Regions from separate parts of the Homo sapiens genome. Here all the other regions are linked to region 2. The links are contacts of gene promoters, found by promoter capture Hi-C in human tissues and cell types (Jung and others, 2019). All regions are on one chromosome and are shown on one strand. Each heading gives the region's core, a stretch centred on a gene start or on the middle of the fragment in contact. The rest is flanking DNA. Distances are from core to core; before and after follow the strand shown.

Evidence for each region. Contacts are between HindIII fragments. The study calls those that stand out against the background at their distance.
Region 1: a fragment that was not itself captured here is called in contact with the fragment with the promoter of COMMD4 in region 2 in 3 of the 25 tissues and cell types used here (adrenal gland, lymphoblastoid cells and stomach).
Region 3: a contact is called between a fragment that was not itself captured here and the fragment with the promoter of COMMD4 in region 2, in 1 of the 25 tissues and cell types used here (lymphoblastoid cells).
Region 4: a contact is called between the fragment with the promoter of SNX33 here and the fragment with the promoter of COMMD4 in region 2, in 2 of the 25 tissues and cell types used here (lymphoblastoid cells and spleen).
Region 5: the fragment with the promoter of ULK3 here is called in contact with the fragment with the promoter of COMMD4 in region 2 in 3 of the 25 tissues and cell types used here (dorsolateral prefrontal cortex, lymphoblastoid cells and pancreas).
Region 6: a fragment that was not itself captured here is called in contact with the fragment with the promoter of COMMD4 in region 2 in 2 of the 25 tissues and cell types used here (lymphoblastoid cells and spleen).
Region 7: a contact is called between the fragment with the promoter of MPI here and the fragment with the promoter of COMMD4 in region 2, in 1 of the 25 tissues and cell types used here (heart right ventricle).

The regions. Positions count from the first base shown.
Region 1 is chr15:74,967,774-74,970,473 of GRCh38, reverse strand. No RefSeq gene overlaps it. Among named protein-coding and RNA genes, the nearest start is that of RPP25, 12 kb to the right of the region's middle. The HindIII fragment of the contact is 5,742 bases long and covers 1-2,700 here.
Region 2 is chr15:75,334,712-75,337,545 of GRCh38, reverse strand. COMMD4 (COMM domain containing 4) reads right to left here and starts at 1,483. Exons shown (of 8, transcript NM_017828.5): 1 at 1,454-1,483. The coding sequence starts at 1,456. RefSeq lists enhancers at 1,090-1,259, 1,600-1,649. The HindIII fragment of the contact is 27,503 bases long and covers 1-2,834 here.
Region 3 is chr15:75,618,182-75,621,067 of GRCh38, reverse strand. SNUPN (snurportin 1) reads left to right here. Exons shown (of 9, transcript NM_005701.4): 2 at 12-174. The coding sequence starts at 17. Among named protein-coding and RNA genes, the nearest start is that of SNUPN, 6.1 kb to the left of the region's middle. The HindIII fragment of the contact is 5,240 bases long and covers 1-2,886 here.
Region 4 is chr15:75,646,563-75,649,272 of GRCh38, reverse strand. SNX33 (sorting nexin 33) reads right to left here and starts at 1,361. Exons shown (of 2, transcript NM_153271.2): 1 at 1-1,361. The coding sequence starts at 170. RefSeq lists an enhancer at 886-1,577 and a silencer at 1,203-1,742. The HindIII fragment of the contact is 33,754 bases long and covers 1-2,710 here.
Region 5 is chr15:74,841,879-74,844,578 of GRCh38, reverse strand. It overlaps ULK3 (unc-51 like kinase 3), which reads left to right and starts at 1,423. Exons shown (of 16, transcript NM_001099436.4): 1 at 1,423-1,575; 2 at 2,159-2,299; 3 at 2,384-2,504. The coding sequence starts at 1,474. SCAMP2 (secretory carrier membrane protein 2) reads left to right here. Exons shown (of 9, transcript NM_005697.5): 9 at 1-849. RefSeq lists a silencer at 942-1,661 and enhancers at 924-1,835, 1,904-2,429. The HindIII fragment of the contact is 11,414 bases long and covers 1-2,700 here.
Region 6 is chr15:75,758,296-75,761,145 of GRCh38, reverse strand. LOC101929408 (a long non-coding RNA gene) reads right to left here and starts at 2,604. Exons shown (of 4, transcript XR_932487.3): 1 at 2,519-2,604. The HindIII fragment of the contact is 5,413 bases long and covers 1-2,850 here.
Region 7 is chr15:74,888,403-74,891,291 of GRCh38, reverse strand. MPI (mannose phosphate isomerase) reads right to left here and starts at 1,250. Exons shown (of 8, transcript NM_002435.3): 1 at 1,203-1,250; 2 at 638-765. The coding sequence starts at 1,218. RefSeq lists enhancers at 924-1,003, 801-1,334, 1,124-1,423, 1,584-1,633. The HindIII fragment of the contact is 15,781 bases long and covers 1-2,889 here.

The DNA.
Region 1 (2,700 bases), core at 99-2,598, 370 kb after region 2:
AGCCTGGGCAACTGAGCAAGACTCTGTCTCAAAAAAATAAAATAAAATAAAATAGGCCAGGCGCGGTGCTCACGCCTGTATTCCCAGCACTTTGGGAGGCCGAGGAGGGCAGATCACTTGAGGTCAGAAGTTTGAGACCAGCCTGGCCAACATGGGGAAACCCTGTCTCTACTAAAAGGCTGTGGTGGCATGTGCCTGTAATCCCAGCTACTAGGGAGGCTGTGGCAGAAGAATCAGTTGAACCCAGGAGGCAGAGGTTGCAGTGAGCCGAGATTGCACCACTGCACTCCAGCCTGGGTGACAAAGTGAGACTCCCTCTAAAAATAAAATAAAGAGATCTCATTAATCACCTGGTCTTCTTTTCTGGCTAATTTTTTTTATTATTATTAGTAGAGATGGGGGGTTTCGCCATGTTGGCCAGGCTGGTCTCGAACTCCTGACCTCAGGTGATCCGCCTGCCTTGGCCTCCCAAAGTGCTGGGATTACAAGTGTGAGTCACTGCACCCAGCCAATCACCTGGCCTTCTTCCCTTCAGGTTAGGAACTAGGCAGCTTTGGGATTCAGGCTGATGGGTGGAAACAATCCCAAAGTAGGATCACCTGAGGTCAAGAGGTCGAGACCAGCCTGGCCAACATGGTGAAACCTCGTCTCTACTAAAAATACAAAATTAGCCAGGCATGGTGGTGCACACCTATAGTCCCAGCTACTTGGGAGGCTGAGGCAGGAGAATCGCTTGAACCTGGGAGGCAGAGGTTTCAGTGAGCCAAGATCGCACCACCGCACTCCAGCCTGGGCAGCAAAGTGAGACTCTGTCTCAAAAAAAAAAAAAAAAAAAAAAAAAAAAAAAAAGCCCCTGCATTTCCAGGTGAATTCCCTGAAAGTTTCAAGTAGAAGTTGCAACCTTGGCCCAGAGCAGTGGCTCACGCCTGTAATCCCAACACTTTAAGAGACCGAGGCAGGAGTATTGCTTGAGCCCAGGAGTTCCAGACCAGCCTGGGCAACATAGTAAGACCCCATCCCTACAAAAAAAAAAAAAAAAAATCTAAAAATGAGGTGGGAGGATCACCTGAGCCTGAGAGGTTGAGTCTGCAATGAGCTGTGATAGTGCCACTGCACACCTGCCTGGGTGACAGCAGTGAGACCTTGTCTTAAAAAAAAAAAAAAAAAGTTGTGCTGGGCATGGTTACTCATGCCTGTAATCCCAACACTTTGGGAGGCTGAGGCGGGTGGATCACTTGAGGCCAGGAGTTTGTGACCAGACTGGTCAACATGGCAAAACCCCGTCTCTACAAACAAAACACAAAAATTAGTTGGGCATGGCCGGGCACGGTGGCTCACACCTGTAATCCCAGCACTTTGGGAGGCCGAGGCGGGCAAATCTCCTGAGGTCAGGAGTTCGAGACCAGCCTGGCCAACATGGTAAAACCCCTACTCTACTAAAAAAAAAAAAAATACAAAAAATACAAAAAATTAGCTGGTGTGGTGGTGGGCACTTGCAATCCCAGTTACTCGGGAGGCTGAGACAGGAGAATTGCTTGAACTCAGGAGGCAGAGTTTGCAGTGAGCCCTGATTGCTCCACTACACTCCAGCCTGGGCGTCACAGCAAGATTCTGTCTCAAAAAAATAAAATTTAAATTAAAAAAATAAAAGGAGGCTGGGTGTGGTGGCTCACGCCTGTAATCCCAGCACTTTGGGAGGCTGAGGCAGGTGGATCACAAGGTCAGGAGTTCAAGACTAGCCTGGCCAAGATGGTGAAACCCCGTCTCTACTAAAAAATATATATATACAAAAATTAGCCAGGCATGGTGGTGGGCGCCTGTAATCCTAGCTACTTGGGAGGCTGAGGCAGGGAATTGCTTGAACCCAGGAGATGGAAGTTGCAGTGAGCTGAGATCAGGTCACTGCACTCCAGGCTGGCGACAGAGAGATACTCTGTCTCAAAAAAAAAAAAAAAGGAAGTTGCAACCTTGGGCTAAACTGAGCTACAGATACGTTATTTAAAAGCATGAGCTAGGCCAGGCGCAGTGTCTCACGCCTGTAATCCCAGCACTTTGGGAGGCTGAGGCCAGCAGATCACAAGGTCAGGCGTTTGAGACCAGCCTGGCCAACATGATGAAACCCCATCTCTACTAAAAATACAAAAAAAAATTAGCCAGGCGTGGTGGCAGGCACCTGTAGTTCCAGCTACTCTGGAGGCTGAGGCAGGAGAATGGCGTGAACCCAGGAGGCGGAGCTTGCAGTGAGCCAAGACTCCACCACTGCACTCCAGCCTGGGCGACAGAGCGAGACTCCGTCTCAAAAAAAAAAAAAAAAAAAAAAAAAAAAAAAATTAGCCAGGCGTGGTGGCGGGCACCTGCAATCTCAGCTCCTTGGGAGGCTGAGGAAGAAGAATCGCTTGAACCTGGGAGGCGGAGGTTGCAGTGAGCCGAGATCGTGCCATTGCACTCCAACCTAGGCGACAGGGCGAGACTCCATCTCAAAAACAAAAAACAAAAACACATGAGTTAGTTCATGTGGTAGATTGTCTGCAGAGATGGCTGTCAACAGTTCCTCCCATTCCTGTATATACATGTCAGGCCTTTCACCAAGAGGTACAGTTTATTTCCTTATCCCTTGAATCTGGTCTAGACATGTATCTTGGTTTGACCAATGGAATGTAGAGGACATGATAATGTGTGACATCTAGGTCTAGGCCTTAC
Region 2 (2,834 bases), core at 234-2,733:
ACCTCGGCTCACTGCAACCTCCGCTTCCCAGGTTCAAGTGATTCTCCTGCCTCAGCCTCCCAAGTAGCTGGGATTACAGGCATGTGCCACCACACTCGGCTAATTTTGTATTTTTAGTAGAGACAGAGTTTCACTATGTTAGCCAGGCTGGTCTTGAACTCCTGACCTCAAGTGATCCGTCCCCCTCAGCCTCCCAAAGTGCTGGGATTACAGGCGTGAGCCACGGCGCCTGGCCAGTGGCTTGCTATCCTTTAAGTGACACATCAGACCAGCCCTTCTTTTTTTAAAAAATAAAAAAATAAGACAGAGTCTCCCTCTGTTGCCCAGGCTGGAGTGCCATGGCCATGCTGGTCTCGAACTCCTGACCTCAGGTGATCCACCCTCTTCACTCTCCCAAAGTGCTAGGATTACAGGCATGAGCCACCGCACCCAGCCAGAACAGCCTTTCTTGATTATACTTCTTAAAATAGCCCCTCACACAAGGAAATTATGGAGGCCAGTGGATACGTTCATTATCTTGATTGTGGTGATCCAAGAGCCAGGAAGATTTGTTCTCTACTTGTCCAGCCTCATCTTTCCCTAACCTGCAGATGATACTCTCCCAGCTATGGGAAATGCATCCATTCCTGGGGAGCCATACTCTCTCTAACCTGAAGTCTCTGCACATGCTGTTCCCTGTCTGAAGACACACGTCTCCCACCCTTGCCTCCCTACCCCTGGTACACAAACTGTACTTCAGCCAGCCAGCTCCTGCCATCCATCCGCCTTTAAGTTTGATGGCATCCTTAGGAAGCCCCCTTAGCACTACACACAAGGCGCAGTTAGGTCTCTGCCCCTGGAGCCTTAGCTATGACTCCAATTCAAGCCTCCGATTTCCCCTTCCCTTGGCAGCTCAAGTCCTCCCAGTGCCTAGCACACTTCATGGTATAGACCAGGCGCTTAGAACGTACGGATGGATGGATTGGATGGATGGATGGATAAGTCTCAACCCCAAAACTACTACTTTCTGGCTCTGGAAAGAGCGGAGGGGCTTCCTAACAGTGTGGAAGAGTGAGCCTGATTCTAAGCACCTTCTTGTACAAGCCCCACGGCAGGGCTGGGGAAGGGGGTATCCTTGGGAGGTCCTCTTGGGGATGGGGAAGACCTGAAAGGACTCCCAGCTCCAGACAAGCCCTAGTTCCTGCCCCGGGAGGCAGGGGCCCTTCCTTCCGCCAGGGAAGCACCGGGACTCTAAGCCGGCCGGCCTGCTCTGTCTTACCCGCCCCGTACCCCCGCCCCCGTCTCGGGAGCGGGAGAGTGGTGGACTTTTCCCTACCAGACTCACAGCCCTCACGCCCGCACACACTGTGTTTGCGGAGAGGCCAGTACAACCTCCCCCAGTTTCCGGAGCCACTTGGCGCCCCCTCATTCCCGCTCCAGCAGCCCAAGCCTCGCTTCGCCCCTAGTGCCTCACCATCGCGCCAAGAAGCCAGGGCCCGGGAATTTCTTTTTCCGGTCCCGCAGGGTCAGCTGAGTCGACGATCACGTGACTTGGACTAACTGCCTCTGGGAGGGCGGGGCCTGCTCGAGTGAGGCCGGGAGCGGACCGCAGCCCGCTGGAGGTGCAGGGGGCGAAATGCTGGCGTCTCCTCCTCCGTCTCCCAGAATCCTTCCCTGGAAAAAACTGGCGCCAACCGCCAGTTTAACTGAGGACCGAATTAAGACATTAGGAAAGACAGTGGAAGTTATTTCATTTGTTTAACTTAAGGGGGTAGGATCCCGGGAGCCAGGGTGTTTCAGGTCATTGACACGTTTTCCACTGTTAAGCGAATAGCATTATTCACAGCTGCGGGCTGTGGCAAAAGACATTTTAAAAACTATTGACGTCTACTACACATACAGAAAATTGTACCTATTATAAAGCTTAATAAGTTTTCATCAACTGTACACCTCACATAACCAGCACCCAGGTAAGGAAATAAACCAGATAACTTCTTCAAGTGCATGGGTATTTTATTTCATTTTGATGAATCATCTAGGTGCCTAGCAAAAAGGGCTGTCATAATTACTTGCTCAGGAAAACTCCCTACAGCTTCAACATCAATAGATGCTTATCTTAATTTTTGCCAGTCTGATGGGGAAGAAAAATCGGTTGCTTAGGTTGCAGTGGTAGTCTGATTACTGGTAGCTCTGAGCTAATGGGTAGTCTAGAACAACTAAGTTTCCGACATTGACTTGAAGAGGCAAAAACAAAAAGACAAAACAACAAGAAAAATACATTTGAGAATAGACTAATAACCAGAGACAAAATTGAATACAGTCGTCCTTTGGTAACCTCAGGATGTTGGTTCCAGGACCCCAGAGATACCAAAATTCACAGATACTCAAGTCCCTGATATAATATGGCATAGTATTTGCAAATAACCTGTGCACATCCTTCCGTATACTTTAAATCATCTCTAGATTACTATAATACCTAATACAACGTAAATGCTTTGTAAATAGCTGTTATAAAGTTTTTTAATTTTTTTTTTTGAGACGGAGTCTTGCTCTGTTGCCCAGGCTGGAGTGCAGTGGCGCGATCTCCACTCGCTGCCAGCTCTGCCACCCGGGTTCACGCCATTCTCCTGCCTCAGCCTCCCGAGTAGCTGGGACTACAGGCGCCCGCCACTGCACCCGACCTGTGTTTTTTTATTGTTTTACTTTTTCCAAATATTTTCGATGCACAGTTGGTTAAATCCAAGGATCCAGAACCTCAGGATACAGAGGGCTGACTGTAGTTTGAGCTCTCTCCTCAATTCCATGCCTATCCCATGCAACAGGTGCAGCTGGTTTTATTGTTGCAGGCTTTCAGG
Region 3 (2,886 bases), core at 41-2,540, 280 kb before region 2:
TTCCTTTGTAGGGAAGATGGAAGAGTTGAGTCAGGCCCTGGCTAGTAGCTTTTCTGTGTCTCAAGATCTGAACAGCACAGCTGCCCCACACCCCCGCCTATCCCAGTACAAGTCCAAGTACAGTTCCTTGGAGCAGAGTGAGCGCCGCCGGAGGTTACTGGAACTGCAGAAATCGTAAGGAAGCTTTAACTCCTTGTCTTCTTTCTCTGGGCTAGGAGCTATGAACCATTCCGAAGGCTCTAGGCTTGTCTCTACAGACTCTCCCTTCAAAGTAGACTCTTTGTAGGCTGATCTTCTTGCCCACAGGTTGGGAGGGGTAAATCCTGGCAGAGGTAGGTTTCTTTTATACCCAGAGCTTAGGAGAAGATGAGGAATTAGGGAGACACCGAAGTTTGAAACCAAAAGCTCAATTATTTGGTTAAGTTTTTCTTTTTTTCCTGGCAGCTGTACTGAGCTCTGTGGTTTAGGAACTTGCGAAAGCCACGCCCAGACTTTCACTCCCCACATTTCCTGGGATGCTTGTGTTTGGCTTCTGCACTCTGAATGCTGGTATTGGTGTGGTCTTCCCATCTGCCTTCAGCCCAAATGTTTCTGTGGCACTCTTGGGAGTTCAAGACAAATAATTCCTAAGGGAATCTGAGGAAATGTCTTCCATATACTTAATTCTAAGTGCCAAGATGTGCAAACAGGGAAAGAGGGCAGGATAAGAGTGTTTGAGGCTGAGCTACTCTGAAGGCAGGGCCGATCCTTGTATTCTCAATGCAGCATGGGCCTCTTCTGGGTCATAAATTAAGGAATTAGGGATCAGAAGAAACTACTAACAGCTGCATAGTTTCCATACAGTCTGCATTTTGCCCAGTGTTGCATCACTGGTTGTGTTTGGCAGAGATGGTTCCCTGTGGCTCTGGGTGGCTTGCAGAATACATTCCCAGATCATTCCTCTCCCCATTTTTAAAAATGTAGTTATCTTTGAATAGGTAATACATTTGTATGGTTGAAAATTTAAAATATACATAAGAGGCCGGGCATGGTGGCTGACGCCTGTAATCCCAGCACTTTGGGTGGCCGAGGTGGGTGGATCACCTGAGGTCAGGAGTTCGAGACTGGCCTGACCAACATGGCGAAAACTTGTCTCTACTAAAAATACAAAAATTAGCCCGACATGGTGGTGCGTGCCTGTAGTCCCAGCTACTCGGGAGGCTGAGACAGGAGAATCACTTGAACCCGGGAGGTGGAGGTTGCAGTGAGCCGAAATCGCGCCATTGCACTCCAGCCTGGGCAACACAGCTAGACTCTCTCAAATAAATAAATAAATAAATAAAATAAATAGAAGAGTATATGGTGAGGTCTTCCCATTTCTGTCCCCTAGCTATCCAGTTCCTCTCCTATATTATTAGTTTCTGGTGTATCCTTCCAAATATATATATATTTTAGACAGGGTGTCACTGTGTTGTTCGGGCTGGAGTGTGCAGATCCCGGCTCACTGCAGCCTCAACCTCTCAGGCTCAGGTGATCCTCCCACCTCAGCCTCTGAAGTAGGTGGGACTACAGGCACACTCCATAGCACCTGGCTAATTTTTTTATATTTTGTAGGAACAGGGTCTCCCTATATTGCTCAGGCTGATCTTGAACTCCTAGGCTCAACTGATCCTCCCACCTTGACCTCCCAAAGTGCTGGGATTTCAGACGTCAGCCACTACGCCTGGCCCTTCCGAAGATATTCTATACATATATGAGCAAGTGTGTGTGGTAGTATGTGTACAAAAGCTTTTTTTTTTTTTGACTCTATCTCCCAGGCTGAGTACTGTGGCATGATCTTGGCTCACTGCAACCTCAGCCCCTCAAGTAGCTGGGACCACTGGTGCAGGCCACCACACCCAGCTAATTTTTTTATTTTTGGTAGAAACACAATTTCACCATGTTGCCCAAGCTGGTCTTGAACTCCTGAGCTCAAGTGATCTGGCCAATTCACCCTCCCAGAGGGCTGGGATTACAGGCAGGAGCCACTGCACCTGGCTTTTTTTTTTTTTTTTTTTTTTTTTTTTAACACAAGTAGCAGTATACTATATACTGTTCTGCACATTTATTTAGTGGTGTTTTGGGGGAGAAATTCTATATCAGTTCATAAAGTACCACATCATTCCTTTTTCGTGGTGCTAGGTATTCCGTGGAATGGATACTTCATAATGCCATCAAGCCAGTCCCTCCTGATGGGCATCTGGGCAGTTTTCTTCTCTTGTGATTACAAACAATGTTCAGGAAATAACCACAGACAGACTTTCTTTCACACATGTACAAATATACCAGCTCTTTTATTCTCGAGATAAAAGACCATTGTGCTTTCATATGTTCTCTCTGGTGTGTGCCTTTTTATAATGAGCATGAACATGTATGTGTTTAAGAGAAACCAGCTGTGTTGGTTTCACTGCCTCAGTGGTTGAATTCCTGCCTTAGCATTGAAGAAATCAAATGTGGGAGGTTATGTGGTATTTCCAAATCACTTTGAAACAATTAGGTTCCAAAAGATTCTTTTTTTTTCTTTTCAGTTTCCCAAACTTTCTAGCATGTGTTGTTTTAAAACAAGATAACGATAAAGGGAAACAAATAAATAAAATATATTAAATTGTAAACTAAGTGACCTTTTTTGAAAGTTAGACAGGAACTGGAGAAAGGCCTGGCTTCTGAGAAAGCTGTATAAGCTGGGCACAGTGGCATACACCTACGGTCCGTAAAAAAAAAAGTTCTCTTTAAAAACAAAAAAGGTGTATAAGGCAGAAATCTCCAGAAGCTGTCCTTGCTTTAGACTTCTCACTGCATCTCAGTGGCTCTTCTCTTCCACCCCTGGGGTCTTTGGATGAGATGTCTGCTAGGCAGGAAGGTGTCAGC
Region 4 (2,710 bases), core at 112-2,611, 310 kb before region 2:
TCCACATAAGAGGCAGGAAAGAGCCCTGTCTCCCCACGGCTGTTCTGGCCCTGCAGCCAGCCATCCAGTGAGGTCTCGCTAAAGATGACCAGGTCCTCATCCTGCTGGATGCTGATTTCCTCCTTGTTCTCACTGTGAAAGTCATAGAGGGCTCGGCCTTTCAGTGCCATGGCTGGGCTGGGTGGTATAGAAAGATGGGAAGGAGAGGGTCCTGCCCAGACCGGGGATGCTCACAAGGCAGTCCAAGAATGCACTCGCAGCTGAATGGCGCTTACACAGTTCAATCTCTCAGGTCCTAAGGTGGGGTCTCAGCACCCACAGATGCTGTCCAGTCTCCCCCTCTTCAAAGCAATGTCCATGGCCCAGAAACTGCCCTATCAGGTCTCCGGGCATATGCTTGTGAGCAGGGAGGGCTCATGTCCACAGTCTCCTCCTCCCTTAGCAGCCTCTGGGGGGTTAGAGGGGAATCTCTCCTAACTCCTACTCCCAGAAGAAAAGTCAAGTGACCTGGAGAAATCTGCCCTGCGAGGGGAAAAATTCGACACTTTCCACTGGAACAACGTTCTAAAATAGAAGAGACTCACTCTGAAACCACCATTCCAGAAACCCGGGCAGGGCTCGGCTGTCCCTCTGGCTCCCAGATTCTTTTGGCGGCTCTCGCTTTGGGAGGCTCTCACATTCCTCTGCAGATCTGCCCCTTCCTCCTTCCTCCTCTTGCTCCTGGGCCACTGGGTTTTCAAAAATCCGGAAAATCCAAGAGGGGCAAGGAGAAAAGCAGCAGCCGCCTGAATCGAGTCCAAGGGTGGATGTGTCCGGCTTCACAACGAGCCAGGCCGGGAAAACAAGGACTGAGGCTTACACAACAGGCCGCCAACTCTTCGACCCCGGCTGCGCAGCCGGAGCCCCCGCCGGCTCGGGCGCCCTCTCCCCGCCCCAGAAGTGGCCAGCCCCAACCCCGGAGGAAGGAGGGGGCGCGACGAGGCTGTCGGGCGACTTCTAGCCACTCGCTGAGTGGTCTCTTTTGTTTGCCTAATTCCTCAGCAGTTTCTGAGCCTGACGCTGACCCTGCTCTGAATCCCAGGAACCCCGTCCAAAGGTAACCCCAGCAGAAACCGGTTCCTCACCCGGGACTTACGACCCCCGATCACCACCCTCGCGTGCACGCACACACTCAACAGTTTGGAGTTTGGAGAGTGAGCTCCGGCGAGCAGATGGCGCGGCCAGCCGTCTGTCCGTCCGTCCTCCTCTCCGCCCTGCGGGGCCCGGCCAGTGGGGGGCGGGCTGCGCCCCCAGCCTGCCTTCCCCGGCGCTCGCAGACCCTCCGCTCCGCCAGCGAGAAGGCAGCTCCAAAACAAAAAGGCGATTCCGGGAGGTGGCGTCCTGAGGAAGGAGGGGATCGCCAAAGGGGAGGTGAGGGGTGGGGAGAGGGAGGAGGGAGGGGGAAGCAGGCTGGAGAATCGGGCAAACTCCGCTGCACTTCCGTGCGTCCCGGCGGGGCAGGGACGGCCAGCTCCGCCCTCCCGCGGGCCCGGGGCGCTGCAGCCGAGCCCCCGCCTACTCCTCCGCGCGGCTTCCCAGCTGGCCAGCGCCCTCGCTCGCTGGCGCTCAGTCCGGGAGGCGAGAGGGAGGAAACGACCCGGGAACGAGGGGGCCCGAGAGCCTCCGGGGCTGGTCCCTGGGACCGCCACCTCCCCTCCTCTCCCTCCGCCTGTCCGCCCTCGCCGGGAGACACCTCACGCCCCCGTGGTTGGAGCGCCCGGCGGGGGAGCTTGCCAGCTGCCGCTGCCTCGCTTCCTGGACTCCGTCATCCTCCTGCCTTTTCCGTGACGCAAATGGAGTAAAACTCCGAAAGTTTGCAAAGCGTGGGGCTGCAAGGAGCACCGCGCCAGAGCCAGGATCGGGAGATCGGGGTGGGGGGAGGGGGGTGCGTGGAAAGCCGCCGCGCCAGCTGGGGTTGGGGAGCAGAGTCGCGGACTCGCCTTCCCACCTTCCCATTCCCCACTCCTGCTCCGCAGGGACGGGTCGTGGCGCAGCTCAGAGATTGTTTTCCGGAGGAACAGAAACGGCCTGCGCGTTCCAGGCGTCTGACCTAAGATACCGAGAGCTGCGGGTGCAGCACCCTAGCCAGACAGGGCGACCCTGCCCTGGGCGACTAGCTTGGAAGGAGGGAAAGACACTACTCTACATCTGCAGCGACAGGGAACAAGTCTAGGTGCCACCCGGTTCCGTGTTGCTTAGTACAGCAGCGGGGACTGGATGTTCTGTGCTAGCCAGCGGCAGCAAGGAGAGAAGTGGTCAGGTAGAGAATCTTCGAGAAGAGGCAAGTGGGATCTGACCCTCGGTCAGCATATCGGGAACACTTTGGGCATTGATTCTGCTAGGCACTGTGCTGGGCACTGGGGAGTAGTACACCACAAGGCAGTCGGGGTTTCTATCCTGGGGGGCTTACAGTCCACCCTCTCTTGTCTTTAATCAATCCATTCTGTCTCAGTCATTCATTCAGCCAAGTCATGCACTCAAGAAACATTAACTGAGTACCTACTCTGCACCAGGCCCCTGAGCTACAAAGACAAATAAGACATTATCCTTATTTTCCAAAAGCTCAGATATGTTGTGACAAGTAGACAAATGCTCCCTGCCCAGTGTGACTAGTTAGTGCCATGAAAAGTGCACATGAGGGTACCTACCCCAGCCTGGGTAGAGCAAGGAT
Region 5 (2,700 bases), core at 174-2,673, 490 kb after region 2:
GGTCTCCAGGCTTCCAGAGAAGGCTGGTTGCCTCAAGCTCTTCTCTGCCTCATAAACGGATCCAGAGAAGGCTGGTTGCCTTAAGCTCTTCCCTGCCTCGTGTTCCTGAGAAACGGATTAATAGCCCTTTATCCCCCTGCACCCTCCTGCAGGGGATGGCACTTTGAGCCCTCTGGAGCCCTCCCCTTGCTGAGCCTTACTCTCTTCAGACTTTCTGAATGTACAATGCCGTTGGTTGGGATTTGGGGACTGGAAGGGACCAAGGACACTGACCCCAAGCTGTCCTGCCTAGCGTCCAGCGTCTTCTAGGAGGGTGGGGTCTGCCTGTCCTGGTGTGGTTGGTTTGGCCCTGTTTGCTGTGACTACCCCCCCCCCTCCCCGAACCGAGGGACGGCTGCCTTTGTCTCTGCCTCAGATGCCACCTGCCCCGCCCATGCTCCCCATCAGCAGCATCCAGACTTTCAGGAAGGGCAGGGCCAGCCAGTCCAGAACCGCATCCCTCAGCAGGGACTGATAAGCCATCTCTCGGAGGGCCCCCTAATACCCAGTGGAGTCTGGTTCACACCCTGGGGGGTGTGTCACTGTGATGGGACACGTAGGAGTCCACCCTTAAAACCAGCACCCTGTCCCTCGAGGCTGCCGAGTGGGTGTGTGGACTGGGGTGCCTTCCCACAAAACTAGCCTCCGGCTCTGGGCCCGAGACAGCCGCAGGCCCCAGCCACTGAATGATACTGGCAGCGGCTGGGGTTTTATGAACTCCTTTCTGGTATTTTTTCCCCTCTATGTACAAATGTATATGTTACGTCTCAATTTTTGTGCTTAAGTAAAAATAAAAACATTTTCAGACAACACGGGTCCACATGTCTGGTGGACTTGGGAGGACGGGGCAGCCCACAGGATTAGGGGCTGGGCGCCGCTGCTAAGATTGGAGAGCGGGGACAGTTAAGATGCAATAAATAGGTCAAGGCCCTTCCTCAGAAAAGTGAAAAGCAGCTGGGAGGCCTGGGAAGCCAACGCGGCCTCTTCCAAAGGCGCCTTCTCGTGCCAGTAGCTCTCCTTTCAGAGCTGCGGGTCCTGGGGAGGGGCCCTGGGAGCCTCCCGGACGCCGTCGCCCCCACACACGCCCGCTCCGCCGCCCGCGCCCTCACGTGGGCGATCTCTAGACGCCTCTGCGCCCGCTAGGAGTCCCCGGAGACCACGCCGGCCGTCCTCCGTTGTTAACTTCTAGGCTCGCGGGGCCTCCGTATCCCCACGTGGGCCCTGCAGGAACTGGCGGGGCGCGTGACCCGGCGAGGCCCAGAGACAGGGGAGGGGCGCCGGGAGCCGGGCGGATCCGCGTCCCCGATGCGCGCTGCATTTCCGGCGGGCGGCGCTGGGGGCAGCGTGGAGCCACCCAGTGCTCGGCCCGCCCCGCAACCCGCCGGAACCGCCGCCCGCAGCGAGGAAGCGCCCGCGCGGGCGCAGGCGGCCGGAATGGCGGGGCCCGGCTGGGGTCCCCCGCGCCTGGACGGCTTCATCCTCACCGAGCGCCTGGGCAGCGGCACGTACGCCACGGTGTACAAGGCCTACGCCAAGGTGGGTGCCGGCCGATGGCCCCGTGCCCGCCCGAGCTAGCTCGGCTGGTGCCGGCCGGGGAGACTCTGAGAGGTTAGCGACAGTGTGGGAATAGTTAGGGGCGGGAGGCCGGCCTCGCCCCAGCTGACCCTCGGCGGAGGTTGGAGCCGACTGCCACGCTTAGGTCTTAAAGAGCGCACCTGCACCCACCTGCAGGGTCAGTGGCTGAAGAACAGGCTCAAAACAGGTTACCTGGTGGGCTGGGAGGAGTCTGGGACTGGAGCCAGTTGGGAGGCAGAGTGGGCGGTTCTAGAACCCTGAGTGACATGCCTCTGCCGGGAGCACTCCAGAATGCAAAGAAATGGATCAGCTAGCCGAGGGTTGGAGAAGACCAGGCTGAGGCTGTGTCGGGAAGCCAGGATTCCAGAATCAGCATTCCTCACTGGCCTCACAAGGGAAAGCTGGGAAGCCCGGTGCTGGTGTGCAGTAGGTAGACCCGGGGAGGGGCGGGGTGGGGGAACAGAGGGAACCAGATAGAGCCTTTCCAGTCAGACAAGGGTCCTGGCCCCCTCAAGGCAGAGTCCCCAAATCTCCTGTCTCGCAGAAGGACACTCGTGAAGTGGTAGCCATAAAGTGTGTAGCCAAGAAAAGTCTGAACAAGGCATCGGTGGAGAACCTCCTCACGGAGATTGAGATCCTCAAGGGCATTCGACATCCCCACATTGTGCAGCTGAAAGACTTTCAGGTGTGAGCCTGGGGCGGGGCCGCTGCCAAAGGGAGCTGGAGAAGGGACACTCTCTTCAGGCCGCCTCTCTGCCTCTAAACACAGTGGGACAGTGACAATATCTACCTCATCATGGAGTTTTGCGCAGGGGGCGACCTGTCTCGCTTCATCCATACCCGCAGGATTCTGCCTGAGAAGGTGGCGCGTGTCTTCATGCAGCAATTAGGTAAAGGCCTGTGACACCAGCCTGACACTCTGTCCCTTGTTCTCTGCCCCCCACCATCCCACCCCTCCCCCAGGCTTAGAGCCTTGGCACGCATTGCAGCTGCCTCCTGCACAGCCTGAAATTTTATGGTCCTGTTTATCTCATACACTCAACCCTTGCTCAAGGACGCTGTGGGAGAGATGAGGGGGTAACCCCT
Region 6 (2,850 bases), core at 321-2,820, 420 kb before region 2:
CTCTAATGCTCCATCCAGGGGTCAGCTGCTGTTGGTGTAAAGGCCAAATTTCTTGCTGCCTGCTTTTGTGTGGCCCACGCGCTAAGAATGGCTTTTACATGTTTAAATGGTTGAAAACATGGAAAGTAGAGTCGTATCTTGTGACACATGAGAATTACGTGAGATGCAAACTTCCATGTCCATAAAGAAAGGTTTCTGGGAATGTGGCCACGCTTATCTGTTGACATGTTGCTAGGGCTGCTTTCTTGCTACAGGGGAGGGTTTGAGTAGGTGGTGACAGAGACCCAGTGGCCTGCAGAGCCTTAAAGAGTTCCCATCCGGCCCTTTACAGAAAACGCTTGCTAACCCCTGCACTGATCCACCTAATGGAATACACTGCCCACTCCGTGAGTTGATCCTAGTAGGAAATGTTGCTGATAATTTAACAGCTGCTGCTTTTATGTTTTATTTTGTCCCTGCTCTGGTGGGAGACATGTAAGAAAATTCACTCCCTGGGAGGAGGTCATGGTGGGGCTTGTGGCCATCAACGGTGAAGCCTCTTTAAGAGGATGCGTGGGGAGCTCTACCATCTGCTGAGAGGGTTGTGAGGGGCCCTCTGTGTTGAGGAATGAAGAGGGAACGCTGCCTGTGTGCTGGGAGCTGGCTTTCTGGGGAGCAGAAGAGATGGTGGTTCGGGCCTGCGGAGGCAGAGGCCCAAACCAATCTGGTCTCTGGGGCTGCCGGCAGGGAGAGTAGTTGTGTAGGAGTGGGTGCAGGGGCAGAGCCTGAAGGAGGGCACCCCTGACTGCACCCCCAGGAGGCTGTGGTGGTGGGGGTGGGGCAGCACTGTAGGAGGACCAGCGCCTTCTGTGGCTGAGGGGTCCTTGGAGAGCAGCTCCAGGCAATGCGTAGCTGGAGGGGACTGATTTGACCCAGCGCTCTCCTAAGCCACAATGCCCGGCCTAATGTACTGTTTATTTAAAATTCTAAGGATCTTTAATAATTTTAATAAGGATCTTTAAATAATTTTCCATGGATCATATTTTTATTGCATTTTAAAATAATTTACAATTTGCTTTCACACATATTCTCCCTCATCTGATCCTCACAACTGCCCTGGGAAGGAGGTTGGAGACAGAGTTGGGGCCTGTTAGGAGACAAATTTACACAATGCATAAGAAAGCTCACTGTGAGCCGGGGTGAAGAAGGGAGGCTTGGAGAATCATGAATGCAGTATCTATGTCTATATTCCCAGCCCAACCACAAAGCCTGAAATTCATTTAGGTATTTAAGAAATAGCTGCTGAATTATTGCCTAGGGGTGCTCAGCTCAAGAAGCAGGGTTGAGACTAACAATCAAGCTTCCTGACTCCTAGCCCAATACTTTTCCAAACACACCACCTATTTTTCTGTATCGGATAGAAAGTATAGTGCTTAAGTTGTACATAATGTTAACTCACTTTCAATACAGGCCAATCATGATTGACTATCAGTAGCTTTTGTGACAAACTTAGTAAACTAGGAAGTTGAACCTTTCAGAGTTCCCCTTCTCATGTCATATGCTATTTCTGTTTTGAAATAAAAATCCTTCCAAATGAAACTTTATCCATCAAAATGACAAGAGAAGTGAAAATAGATACAAGAAGAAAATAAAACATTAATTTCAACATGGCTTTGTCTATTTTGCTTTAAAAGTATAACCACCAAGCCATTCTATTTTTAGGAAGACACATTCTTTTTGGAATGTTAAAAACTATGATAACTATTCTTAAGTCCTAAATGACCAGTATGGGTATTAGTAGATAACTGGACACAGTGCAAGGTCAGAAGGGTGACTGAGTGTGGCAGAAAGGGCAGTATCTCCAGCAACTGCAGATGGATAAATGACAATGAGTCCAGATAATGGATTATGATACAACCATTCAAATAATGCTTATGAGTACTTGATAACATAGGCAAAAGCTTAAGATACAATGTTTTAGACAGAAAAAAGGGAAGGTGGAAAAAAATAGATGGAAAGCATGACTTCAATCATGCATACTGATGCTTCCACTTTATTTTTATTTTTTGAGACAGGGTCCCACTCTGTTGCCCAGGCTGGAGTGCAGTGACATCATGATCTCGGCTCACTGCAGCCTCTACTTCCTGGGCTCAAGCAGTGCTCCCACCCTAGCCTCCTAACTACCTGGGACTACAGGCATGTGCCACCATGCCCAGCTAATTTTTTGTATTTTTAGTAGAGATGGGGTTTTGCCATGTTGCCCAGTCTGGTCTCAAACTCCTGAGCTCAAGGGATCTGCCTGCCTCGCCCTCCACAAGCCGGCCGGCCTGCTCTGTCTTACCCGCCCCCCCACTCCTGCCCCCCACTCCTGCCCCCGTCTCAGGAGCGGGATGGCGGTGGACTCTTCTCTACCAGACCTGCAGCCCTCACACCCGCACACACTGTGTTTGCGGAGAGGCCAGTGAAGACACCCTCCCCCCGTTTCCGGAGCCACTGTCGCCCCCTCATTCCCGCTCCAGCAGCCCATGCCTCGCTTCACCTCTGGTGCCTCACCATCAGGCCAAGAAGCCAGGGCCCGGGAATTTCTTTTTCCGGTGGCGCCAGGTCAACAGATTCGACGATCACGTGACTTGGACAAACGGCCTCTGGGAGGGCGGGGTCTGCTCGAGTGAGGCCGGAAGCGGACCACAGCCCGCAGGAGGTGCTGGAGGGCGAAATGCTGGCGTCTCCTCCTATGTCTTCCAGAATCCTTCCCTGGAAAAAAAGCAGCGCCCACCGCCAGTTTAACTGAGGACCGAATTAAGACATTAGGAAAGACAGTGGAAGTTATTTCATTTGTTTAACTTAAGGGGGTAGGATCCCGGGAGCCAG
Region 7 (2,889 bases), core at 1-2,500, 450 kb after region 2:
CACAGGGCAACTGAGTCCTGGGAAAGGCCTCCCAGGTCTGGATACAAATGTTCATGCCATCATGGACATACAGGGAGGCAGTAGACCCAGGCCCTTGTCCAGACTCGGCCTCTAGCCATCTATGAAGACTTGGACTAGTTATTTCCCTTCTTTAGATGTATCTTCTTTGTCTGTCCAAAGAGGAGAATGACATCTGCACTGTCAAGGTAGCAGAAAAACTATGACTCTTAAATGATTCTTTCAGGGGTTAACATACATCTTCCAGTTTCAGAAGCAGAGGCGAAAGCCTTCCTATGCTTTGGCTTTTTCTCCACTAAATAGGCAGGAGAAATATTTTAGGTTAATAAAAATGCAAAAAAATAGTCAAAGTAAAAAAACTTAATTGTCAAAGAGGGCTGAATTAAAATTCACTAAGTGCTAAGAGTGGTTGGGGGAAGGAGAGTGCTGGAAATCCCAGCCTATTATGACAAAACCTCTCTTCTTTTTGATAACACTATCTAGTCCATTAGCCTGAAGAGCCAAGTGGGTCTCCTCCCTCCTTGCTGCCTCACCCTTCCCAGCTGATTCTTATGACTTGCCTCAGGCCCTTTCTCCTGACCTGCGGGTAAAGTGGGCTGAAATACAGCCCGGGGCTCACCTCTGCATAAGGCTTGTCCTCTGCGATCTGGGCCAGTGGATCACTGCTGGCCAACAGCCGCGCCACTTCGCTGTTGGAACCCATCTTCCCCCAGGCATACTGCTGCACCGCACAGGAAAGTGGGAATACTAGGGGCACAGACAGGGTCAGCTGCCACTCCACTCCTCAGGCCCCACCCTAGTGTCCCGGGAAACCAGGCAAGAGCTGGGGGTGCTCACTGGGGACAGAGTCAAATAAGGGTTTTGTAGGCTGTTGGATGAGACCCCCCTCCGCTGCAGGCCTCGATGTTCCCAACTGTCAGATGGGCAGCAGTAAGGACCTTGTGCTGATCTGAGGCAGGGTGGCGGGGAGGGAGCAGAAGGTACCTATCCCACGGCACGACGTCTAGAAGGGCCCCCTCCCCTCGGAGGTCAATCCCCATCGCAGGTGGCCACACCTCTGCCCGGCACCCACCCATCTTTCCGCGGAATGCCAGGAGCGGACTCAACCTGGCCGATAATGCCGGGAGTCGTCCCCAGGACGCGCTCCACGAACACACTCGCCGACACCCCAGCCAATGGCTCACCTCGCGGAGCGGCCATGCTCGCCCCCTGCACCAGGATTAAGCACGTATGCCTTTCCCGGCAGCCCCCGCGGCCCTCTGCGCCCAGAGCTTCACGGGAAATGTAGTTCCCTGAGCGTTCCGCCAGGCCCCGGGGCACCCGTGCCCAGAGGCTTACGGCCGCGATCTTCGGTCTCACTATTCATTCATTCTTTCCATCGCCGGGCACAGATGTACTGAAAACCTGCTAAGTACCACGGACTGTTCTAAGGGCTGGAGGATACATCAGAGAGCAAGATAGCCTTCCCTCTGCCTTTGTAGAGCGCTTACATTCTGGTGAAGGCAAGACAGACAAGTATTGTAAGCAAATCATGTAGTATGTTGAAAGGTCAAGGCCACAAAAAGTAAGGGGGCAGGTGGCAGTGGGAGGCAGTTTGCAGAATATAAAAGGCTGTCTGGGCAAGCCTCTTGAGGAGGTGAGGTTTGAGTCCAGACTTGGCGGTGAGGAAGGCAGGAGTGTTCTGCGGGGAGGAAACAGCCACAGCGGAAGCCAGAGCAAGGCGGGAATGTGGGACTGTGCCGGGCGTGTTGGGGAGGGAACTGCTAGCAAGGAGGCCACTGTGGCTGGAGCAGAGTGAGTAAGACAGGGGCAGTGAGGAGGTCAGAGAAGAGAGGAGGGGGGCAGAGCTTTGCAGGCTATTGCTATTGTGAAGACTTTGGGTTTTACTTCGAGTCTCAGCAATTACAGATTTGAGCAAAGAATTGCTGTGATGTGAGTAGGGACATACTAGTGATGATGATGGTAAATGTCACATGCAAGGCCCTTCACTGCTCTGAGCTTTGTAGAATGGGGTGAATAATGCCAGCCTGACATGCTTGTTGGAGGGTCAGATGGGATGACGTGAGACACCTATAAGGCAGTCAGCTCCCTGTGCTCCTCTGATCCTTCCCGTCCCAGGTGCTGTAGAAAGTCAGAACCCCAACTTCTACTCCAGGCTGAGCTGCTTACAAGTTGCACACACAGAAGTCAGGGGAATTACGAAGAGCTGTGCATAGGGAAGGATGGCCTTGGGCCTTGGCTCTGCAGTAATCTTGGCTATATCCTGTGGTGAAAGGCTTTGACATCCAGACCTTCTCAGTCAACAGCCTCCTAGGAGGAGGACAGTCAGTGGCTCAGGCCTGTAATCCTAGCACCTTAGGAGGCAGAGGCAGAAGGATTGCTTGAGGCTAGGAGCACAACAGTCAAAGCTCCGGGGAACCTGGAATGAGGAGTTACAGTCCTGACTCTACCCTCATCACCCCTGCAATACCCTCATTCCCACAGCCTCTACCATATGTGCCCAGGGGAAAGAGCGGGTGCCGTTTTCCCTGTAATCCTCTGCCCAGGTGTGGGTATCTATCTCACCTCCCCTGGGGTCCTCTGGCTCAAATAAATCAGCTTGCATTTTAAAGGAAGCTTTACCATGCACTAAGGAATAATAAAATGGATAATACAAGACTCATGACAGCCCCCCGCCTGGCCAGCCGCCCCGTCCGGGAGGGAGGTGGGGGGGTCAGCCCCCAGCCCGGCCAGCCGCCCCGTCCGGGAGGTGAGGGGCGCCTCTGCCCGGCCGCCCCTACTGGGAAGTGAGGAGCCCCTCTGCCCAGCCAGCTGCCCCGTCCGGGAGGGAGGTAGGGGGGTCAGCCCCCCGCCCGGCCAGCCACCCCGTCC